Linked DNA regions of Homo sapiens: all the other regions are linked to region 2. The links are contacts of gene promoters, found by promoter capture Hi-C in blood cells and fetal thymus (Javierre and others, 2016). All regions are on one chromosome and are shown on one strand. Each heading gives the region's core, a stretch centred on a gene start or on the middle of the fragment in contact. The rest is flanking DNA. Distances are from core to core; before and after follow the strand shown. Region 1 overlaps HK1 (hexokinase 1). Region 2 holds the start of VPS26A (VPS26 retromer complex component A). Region 3 holds the start of TACR2 (tachykinin receptor 2).

Evidence for each region. Contacts are between HindIII fragments. The CHiCAGO score rates a contact against its expected background, and 5 or more counts as called.
Region 1: a contact is called between a fragment that was not itself captured here and the fragment with the promoter of VPS26A in region 2, in 6 of 17 cell types (fetal thymus, total CD8 T cells, erythroblasts and 3 more). The highest score is 7.0, in fetal thymus.
Region 3: the fragment with the promoter of TACR2 here is called in contact with the fragment with the promoter of VPS26A in region 2 in 10 of 17 cell types (fetal thymus, M2 macrophages, total B cells and 7 more); the score reaches 12.3 in fetal thymus.

The regions. Positions count from the first base shown.
Region 1 is chr10:69,389,870-69,392,606 of GRCh38, reverse strand. It overlaps HK1 (hexokinase 1), which reads right to left. Exons shown (of 18, transcript NM_000188.3): 15 at 299-482. Among named protein-coding and RNA genes, the nearest start is that of TACR2, 26 kb to the left of the region's middle. RefSeq lists enhancers at 1,207-1,918, 1,990-2,712. The HindIII fragment of the contact is 366 bases long and covers 1,305-1,670 here.
Region 2 is chr10:69,122,693-69,125,688 of GRCh38, reverse strand. VPS26A (VPS26 retromer complex component A) reads right to left here and starts at 1,511. Exons shown (of 9, transcript NM_004896.5): 1 at 1,409-1,511. The coding sequence starts at 1,411. RefSeq lists enhancers at 547-1,053, 1,918-2,277 and a silencer at 1,258-1,657. The HindIII fragment of the contact is 9,705 bases long and covers 1-2,996 here.
Region 3 is chr10:69,415,474-69,418,505 of GRCh38, reverse strand. TACR2 (tachykinin receptor 2) reads left to right here and starts at 1,588. Exons shown (of 5, transcript NM_001057.3): 1 at 1,588-2,574. The coding sequence starts at 2,183. RefSeq lists enhancers at 39-333, 1,084-1,818. The HindIII fragment of the contact is 12,893 bases long and covers 1-3,032 here.

The sequences.
Region 1 (2,737 bases), core at 238-2,737, 270 kb before region 2:
ATGGGAAAGGAACACAGCAAGGGGACCGGAAGGCCAGAATCCTCCAGGCTAAAAAACAGTCACAGGCAGCCCCTAGACAGGCATCAACCCTGGGCCATCTTGTACCATGTTGGGGGTCTGTCCTCCCTGGTTCTCTGCTGTCCAAAAGACAAAGGTCAGGAGTGAGCCAGGGGGTCCAGTCTTGAAACCTCTGTTCAGACCTCTCCTCCTAGAAACTTCTTCCACTGCAAGTGGCAGAATGCAGCCAAGTGCTGCCCCCACCCTGACTGTGAGTGTCCTCTCCACCAGGCGGGGTTACCTTTGTTTCCCAGCATTTAGGGAATATTCGTCCACCAGTCTGTCGTAGTGTGTCCTGATATCATCCAGACACCCGTTGTCCCCAAAGGCCCCCCACTCCATGTTGATGCACATCTGCCCCTGGTCCCCCTCCACCATCTCCACGTTCTTCATCTCCTCCATGTAGCAGGCATTGCTGCCGGTCCCTGGAACACACGAGGGGGCAATGAGGAGCGGTGGCCTTGCATTTGGGGGTCTTGCAACTGGGCCTGGGGTCTGGGGCCTGAGGTTCCACAGGCAGGGGGCACGTTTTTTGTGATGAACAAAGTAATAGTTTTTCTTTCCCAATTTTGAAATGGAAAAATTTGAAATGTAAATGGAGAGTCTGAGCCACATCACCCAGAGGGCACCTGCTTAGCTGACTTTCAACCAAGAGCCAATGTGTTCACCCGTCCAGGCAGGGTTATGTTTATTTTAATAGAAGATGGCTTTATAGCAAAGAGATGGAGCATCAATGGTAGAGGTTTAGGCAACATTCAGACCAGAAGAAGAAATATATACGTACACACACAACATCATGCACACATGAATATACAATATATACATGCCTATATATATGTGTATAAAATATTAGGGGATTATCTTCTATCATACCATAGATATTCACTTATTTTCTTTTTCTTTTCTTCAAGACAGGGTCTGGCTCTGTCACCCAGGCTGGAGTGCAGCGGCGCAATCTTGGCTCACTGCAACCTCCGCCTCCAGGGCTCAAGTGATTTTCCCACCTCAGCCTTCCAAGTGGCTGGACTACAGGCACCACCATCATGCCTGGCTAATTTTTTAAAATTTTTAGTAGAGATAGGGTTTTGCCATGTTGCCTAGGTTCATCTCAAATTCCTGGGCTCGAGCTACCCTCTCGCCTCAGCCTCACAAAGTGCTGGGATTACAGGCGTGGGCACCACGCCCAGCCCCACTTATCTTTTCTCGACAAGGATGGTTGGTCGTGGACTATGCCTGCTCAATAAGCTTTCCTACATACCTTGGGATGAAGCCCACAGTTCAGGGCAGGACAGTGTCTTCAGCATTTCAAGGGGGGCTTTCAAAAGCAATGGTTTTTCATCATTTTTGTATCAGACCTTTGAAGATCAGAGGATTCTTCTGTGAAAAAGGCACCTTTCTCTGGGTGGACCCACACACCGCACACATGCAACCTGACATATGCTTGCCAGGGGCTCAGGAATCTCTGACTTCCATTCCTGAACTCCCTAGAGCAGAGTCACTCAAAATAGAAGGACCACCGACTGTTTGCTGTTCCAGCCCATGAGGAGCTAAGAAACTGAAGGCAAGCATCCTGCAACTTTCACAGCAATTTTAATTGCCATGATATCCAAGCTTGTGGTCACTGAACTTGCCTCACTGAATAGACTGGACATTTAAAAACCAATCAACTAACCCAGGAAGAGTGCTTCACACACATACTTTAATATGCACCTGGATCACCTGGGGACCCTAAGAAGCAGATCCAGATTCAAGAGGCTAGGGCCAGGACCTGAGAGCCTGCATCTCTAACAAGCTCCCAGGATGATGCTAATGATGCGCCCAGGAGCACCATCCACCCATCCAGGGTGGGATGTAGGTGAACTTTCATCGGGAGGGCACAAGACACACCCCCTGGCCAGACCAAAAGGGCTTTGGTAGTTTTCATCCCCTTTGAAGAAACTTAAGTAGAGTTCAAAGACTGTACAGTTGGATGATTTTTGTTCTTTGTTTTCTCAGCCCCCTTTTCACCCAAGGTTAAAACTGAGAGAAGAGGAGCTCCAGAAACGGAAGATGATGGGAGTGGGAGATGCAAAGAAAGCCAAAACATGGAAACCATACATCTTGCCTATGGGAGTCCTGAGCAAAGAGATCAATTGATGGAGGAAAGAAAAAGTAGCTATGAAGTAGCTATGAAATGTAGCTGGAGCCTGGTGCCAGGAAACGGGCGGGCCTGACCTCCCAGGAGGGAAGGTGGGGCCTGCAGGAGGAGGAGAGCTGCTGTGTCACTCTAGCTTTGCATTTCATACCCAAGCCCATTCATGGAAAGAAAGGGAGGGGCTGGGTGGAGAAAGCCAGGCCCCAAACAACCTTTTCACCAGCAGCTGCTCCCTAGGTTTTTTAAAATTTCAACAGAAGCGAAAAGTGGCTTAACAATGAATGAAAAGTTCTTCCTGGCACCTGGAAGGCAGCCTGCTGGGGCCTCTTCCCAAGCTCTAGACACTCAGCAACTGATCCAGTAGCAGGGGTGCCACTGCTCACTCACCAGGCAGAGTCCGCAGATGTTGGCTAAGAAACTCCCTGGGGTCTTTCCCAGCATCCCCTGACGCGAGGAGCAGGGCCAGCAGGACAAATGGTTTCCTCATAGCCCAAATCAATATGCTTCAGGAATTATGTGCTCGAGGCCCAGACCCCTAATGTGTTT
Region 2 (2,996 bases), core at 262-2,761:
TTTTACAATTTAGTTTCTGTTTGGGTAACTTGAAAATATAAACTGCTCTTGAACATAATTCAAAAAAGCGTATTAAAAGTAATAATTACAAATGTAAGCAAAAAATAGGAGGACCTTTTAAGTTTTCTTTTCAAATGATATTCAATTAAAGAAGCCTGCCCTAACACTGACTAGGCAAGGTCCCCCAATACTTCCTTCTTAGTATCTGTCACAATTCTAATTTCCACGTTAAACAAATAATTTACACAAATAAATGTTTATCTCTCCCTACATTGTAAGCTACGAGAGCAGGTAGGCGCTGTTTCCATTTTACTGGGGTCCCCTAGGCACACCTGAGCAATTATTTGTTGAATGAAAGAAAAAAAGCTCTAAGAATGAACATGAATGTCTGGATTTTGTTTTGTTTTGTTTTGAAAGCAACATCATTACTGAAATTAAAAGTTATTTATTCAAAGTAGCTTTTTAAAAATATACCTGGCTCGGCCTTTTAAGCCAAAAGTCTCAAGCAGTCTATTGAATCAGTGAGCTTTGGGAAGAGCAGGTAGTATTAGGAGAGCATACAGTAGGCGCTAAATGAAGAGAACTGACGACTACTACCAGAAAATGGGTAAAATGAGATCTAACCTAGAGACTGCCGACACCCAGCTAAATACCACAATGCCCAGGCTAGTGCTTCCGCGGACTGTGGTGAGAGCACTGATTCCCCTCCCTCCTCTGCCTCATAGGCCGTTTCAACAACCCAGAGCGTTAAGTTCAGCGAAATAGCTTGCGGACGGAAATGAGAGCCAATGCTTAAAACGGCGGGCACCAAACGGGTGTCTCTGGAGTTAAAGATATCCCCCATTCCAACGTCCTTTTATTTTTCTCTCCCATTTTACAAGTGTCAACAGAAAGCCTGAACTGGGGTCATGAAATCAAAGAATGTCACCATAGTCAGGTTTTAAAATATCAGAGTTTATCAAGTTCGTGACACACTGAGTGCCCAAGTCCCCCGAAGAGTCCGGAGGTGGGGGGCTCCCGGGTCGCCCCACCTGGATGGAAGAGAGGCTGCCCGGGAGGAGAACAGGGACTGGCTACCTAGGAAGGGGAGGCGGCGACCAGCCCCCGCAGAGGCGGGGTCCGAGTCCCCAGCCAGAGCCCCAACAAGCAGTCGAAGAACGCGGGCAGAGGCTCCGACATGGCCAGGAGAGCACGCCGCCGCCCGTAGGTGCTCGGGCCTCGCCGAGACCGGGAAGAGGTGGCGCCGCCAGCTTTTCCCAGACCCAGGGGTGGCCCGACAGGCCTAACCCCGCTCCCCGCCCTGCTCCCCCGTCCCCTCCTCCGGCGACGCCCGGCCCGCGGTTGGCCGGCCCGCCGCGCGCTCCGGGACGAGGGCGGGAGGCGAGCGCGCTGGCCGCCGCGCACTCACCATTGTCAACGCCGCCGCCGCGTCCCCCCTACTCCACTCCTCTTCCCTCAGGAGAACTCCCAGCCCCGGCTCCCTCCGCTCCGGCGCTCCGTCACGTGACCTCGGGCCGCCCCTCACACGTGACCGCTCCCTTCCTCTCCCCCACCCCCGCACCCGTCCCTCTCCCAGCCTCCTGCCCCGCCCTGCTGGCCGCCAGGCACTCCGGGGAGAGGCCGCTTGGAGGCGGGGCCTCAGGCTCCACCCTTCGGAGGGTGGAGAGGGGCGGGCAAATTACGTCGAGTGGGCGGGGCCTGAACAGAGGCGGGTTCGCGGGCTCCTCCTCGCCGTCTCTTCGGTCACCGGACGAGCGGTTCCGTGTCCGGCCTCTTTACCGCACCCAGTTCCTCTTTGTGAAAGTTTGAGCGGCTGGGAAGGAAGGAGGAGAGGAAGGATTCATCTGGAGGCTCTCTCCTTGGCTGGGTCCTTGGGTTGCCGAGGCGAGTGGGAGCCCTACTTCCTTAGGCCTCGCAAGAAGAGATGTGCTCTCTTCGTCCACGGCGAGGCGTTCTGCCACCTTGCCTGAACGCAGTCCCGCTCCACCTCCTTCTGAGTCTGGGTTTTCTTAACTTGGCTTTCTCGCCTCTGAAGAGAAGACCAGTAGAAAAAAATCCTAGGGTACAACTTTCATTGCTTCCCAAAGTCCCCAGATGGCCCCTGAGCGACCCACCCTGAGCCTGGAGGGCTCACAAACCCACCGTTCCGCCCAGCCGTTCTGAGAGGGCAAAGGCGCTCCCCCGAAAGTCCCACGGCGCAGCTGAAGACTACGCTGGCCTGAACTGGATCCTCCTCCCTAGTGTAAGCCTATAGGACCTCCAGATGAGGAAAATACTGTGTGGGATTTCAGAGTATAGTGTTGAAGGGCCACAGTGCACTCTATGCATAACCAAAGCAGAAGAAAAATCCATCCCTGAACGCACTATAATTACCCCACCTTAAAACAGAAGTTTGTGAGGCGAGTCCATGAAACAGGTATCAAAAAAAATTTTTTTATACTTAATCCTCAGTGTGAGCCTCAAATTTAAGAGGATTGAAATCAGAGTATCATCTCTAACCGCAATAGAATTAAAATTAGAAATCAACCCAAACAAGCCAGAAAATTCCGGAAATATTGGAAATTAAGCAACATAATTCCAAATCTCTAGGTCAAAGAAGAGATCAATGGAAATTTAAAAATAAGTTGAGGCCGGGCACGGAGGCTCACACTTGTAATCCCAACACTTTGGGAGGCCAAGGCAGGTGGATCACCTGAGGTCAGACACGAGTATCTCTTGAATCCGGGAAGCGGAGGTTGCAGTGCCCGAGATGGAGCCACTGCACTCCAGCCTGGGCGACAGAGCAAGACTCTGTCTCAAAAATAAAAAATAATAAAAATAAAATAATTTGAAATAAAAGATAATAATACAACATATCAAATTTGTGGAATGCAGTGACACTGTGTAAAAGGAAAATTTGTAGCTTTAAATGCACATATTTGGGCCAGGCATGGTGGCTCACAGTCTATAATTCCAGCACTTTGAGAGGCCGAGGCGGACGGATCACTTGAGGTCAG
Region 3 (3,032 bases), core at 339-2,838, 290 kb before region 2:
ATCCCAGCCCTGCACTGGGTTTGCACCTGAAGCTCAACAAATTCCCACTGCCTGGGAGCAGGAGGACAGCAAAAAGAGCAGGCTGTCTTGGGCTTCCATTCTTATTTCTACACATTCTGCTCTTTAGGACCCTGGCCAGATGGGCATGAGACAGAAGCAAACCCTAAAGTACTGCTACTGTTGCCGCCACCAACAGAGATCAAAGGCAGAGACCCTTCTGCTAGGGTCCAAAGTCCAAACAGGCCACTCCAGAGAGGAAACAGGCACACAGGCACACACCCACGGGAGGAGTAGGGGCCCAGGAAGCACTCCCTCCCCAAGGGCAAGGATGGGGTTCCCATTCGACCCAGCACATGCTCCTCACATCTGCACAGCAGGGAGACCAAACAATAGATACAATTTCAGTGTTGATTGTCGATGAACTTACCCAGAAGTTCATAATCAGAAAAATCCATAAAGAAGCTCTTTCAATTTCAGCATGTTTAAGTTTCATGACTTATGGTTTAGTGTTGTTTTTATATTGGATTCCATGGGTGGCATAATCTTTTCAGCACTAGAGACCTTTAAAGGTCTTTCTCAGCTCACCCCGGGAGACAAGGGCTGGGTGTCAGGAAAGTGACACACAGGGAGAAGCAGAAAATGGACTGGGAGTGTGGGGGCCGAGGCCCAGCCACGAGAAACCCAGGCGGTGCAAGGCAGAGCCCTGGGAGCACAGAGGCTGCTGTGCCGTGGGTTGCTGGTGAATGAGAAGCCTCCTCTGCTTTAATGAAGAACATGCCCCCCCGACTCCCGCTAATCCTGCCCTGCCTTCATGGTCCACACACCACAGGTGTGCACAGGTTCATGCGTGTGTGTGAGCTTAACACGTCAGCCGCACATACAGTTGCTCAGAAACATCTTCACTGCTTCACACACGTGCACACAGTCAATGACCAGGAGCAGGGATCTTGGGGCAAACCTAGAGCAGCTTCTCAGGAGTTAAAACTCCAGCTTTGCTGTGGTTCCCGGAAGAGCCCTGACTTTGTCCTAAGACAGTGGTTCTCAAAGTGAAGTGCTGGCTCCAGCAGCATCAGTATCACCTGGGAACTCGCTGGAAACGCTCCGGGTTCTGGCTTCTCCTCCTAGAGCGCCCAGAGCTGTGGGGTCCTCCCTTCGGGCCAGAAACTCCAATCATAGTTTTTATGTACCAACCCCTGTGCTAAGTAGACTTTGTGCACATTATCTCCATTTAAAATTCACAAATGTACTGTAAGATGCACACCATTTTTCTATATTTTTCAGATGGGGTAGACAGAGCTCAGAAAGGTTAAGAGACTTGCCTGGAGTCACCAAACCAGGCTCGAACTCCTTCTGTATTCAGAATCACTCTTCAGACGTAGCTCCTGTCCTGGGCTGAAAGTCAACATCCGCCGAGAGCTGGGCCCTCTGTACCAGCCCCATCTCCCCCAAGTCTCTCCCTGCCTCTGCAGCCAGTCCTAAATCTTTCAAGAGACAAGGCCAAGCAGGGGGTGGGACCAGGGGCGGGAGCCAAAGCCCCCCCTCGTGAGCAGGCAGCACCTCTGCCAAGGCCCCCACTGGCCCTGCCCCAGAGAACGGCAGGGAAGCTGCAGCGAGGGCTGGCAGCTGGCAGAGCCCTGAGCACCCAGCACCCAGCCCGGCTTGCAGCCCAAAGCCTGGAGAGAGGCTGCTGCGCCATTGACCTGTGGACTCCAGAGACTCCCGCTGTGCATTCCTCTGATCTGGAAGGTTTCCTGAATTACGTGACGAGAAACCTGGGTTCGAGTCCTAACTTGTCACCAACTTCCTGAGTGACCTGGGCTGGTCCCGTCCCCTCTTGGAATCTCTGTCTTCCATCTCTTCAGCGAAGGGGTTGATTTATAAGGGTGTTTTCTGCTCTGACACTGTGATTTGAATTCTGTGTTTCCACATGATATTCGAGAAGTCTGGCCGGAAGGATGGAATCTGAAATGACAATGGTTCTGGACTGGGCTTTGTGCTCAGCCCAGCTCATCTTTGCCTGAGACCTAGGAGTGGCCCCAGGCTCTCCTGATGTGCCACCACGCTTGGCATCTGCTCCTCTCCCTGCCCCCATATTCCCATGCTCTGAAGGGGAGTTCTCTTTCATAGCAAATCCGAGAGGAGCCGAGGAGCCAGGTCCTTTGTTCCAGACCCAGAAGCAGCCATGGGGACCTGTGACATTGTGACTGAAGCCAATATCTCATCTGGCCCTGAGAGCAACACCACGGGCATCACAGCCTTCTCCATGCCCAGCTGGCAACTGGCACTGTGGGCCACAGCCTACCTGGCCCTGGTGCTGGTGGCCGTGACGGGTAATGCCATCGTCATCTGGATCATCCTGGCCCATCGGAGGATGCGCACAGTCACCAACTACTTCATCGTCAATCTGGCGCTGGCTGACCTCTGCATGGCTGCCTTCAATGCCGCCTTCAACTTTGTCTATGCCAGCCACAACATCTGGTACTTTGGCCGTGCCTTCTGCTACTTCCAGAACCTCTTCCCCATCACAGCCATGTTTGTCAGCATCTACTCCATGACCGCCATTGCTGCCGACAGGCAAGAGGGTCCTTGGGGAAGCTGGGGGGAGCCTCCCCACTGAGCCGGGGCTCAGATAAGGGTGGTGACATGCCTGTGATTACACAGCAAGTTTGGGTAGAACCATGGGAATGGCTTCCCAAATCTGGTCATGGTCCAAAACTATGAATCTGGAAGGCAGGGGGACTGTGGAGCTGAAGAAGGTAGACTGAGGGTTAGACACAGAGAAGGACTTTGCACTAGATGCACTAGACAGGTTGTTCAAGTCTGTAGGGGAAGTGGGCAATGTTTTAGCGACCTTCTGAAGTGTTCTTTCCTGGAGTTGATCTTTGTTTTGTTGTCTTTATTTCACTCCAAAGATATGTCTTATACAGTTTTTTTTTTATTATTCCGGATAGATTACACGAGGGGAAAATGTTAAGTTTGCTTGCAGTTACAATCTAATAGGGCCAATTATTTTCCCAACGCTGCTCAGGGCT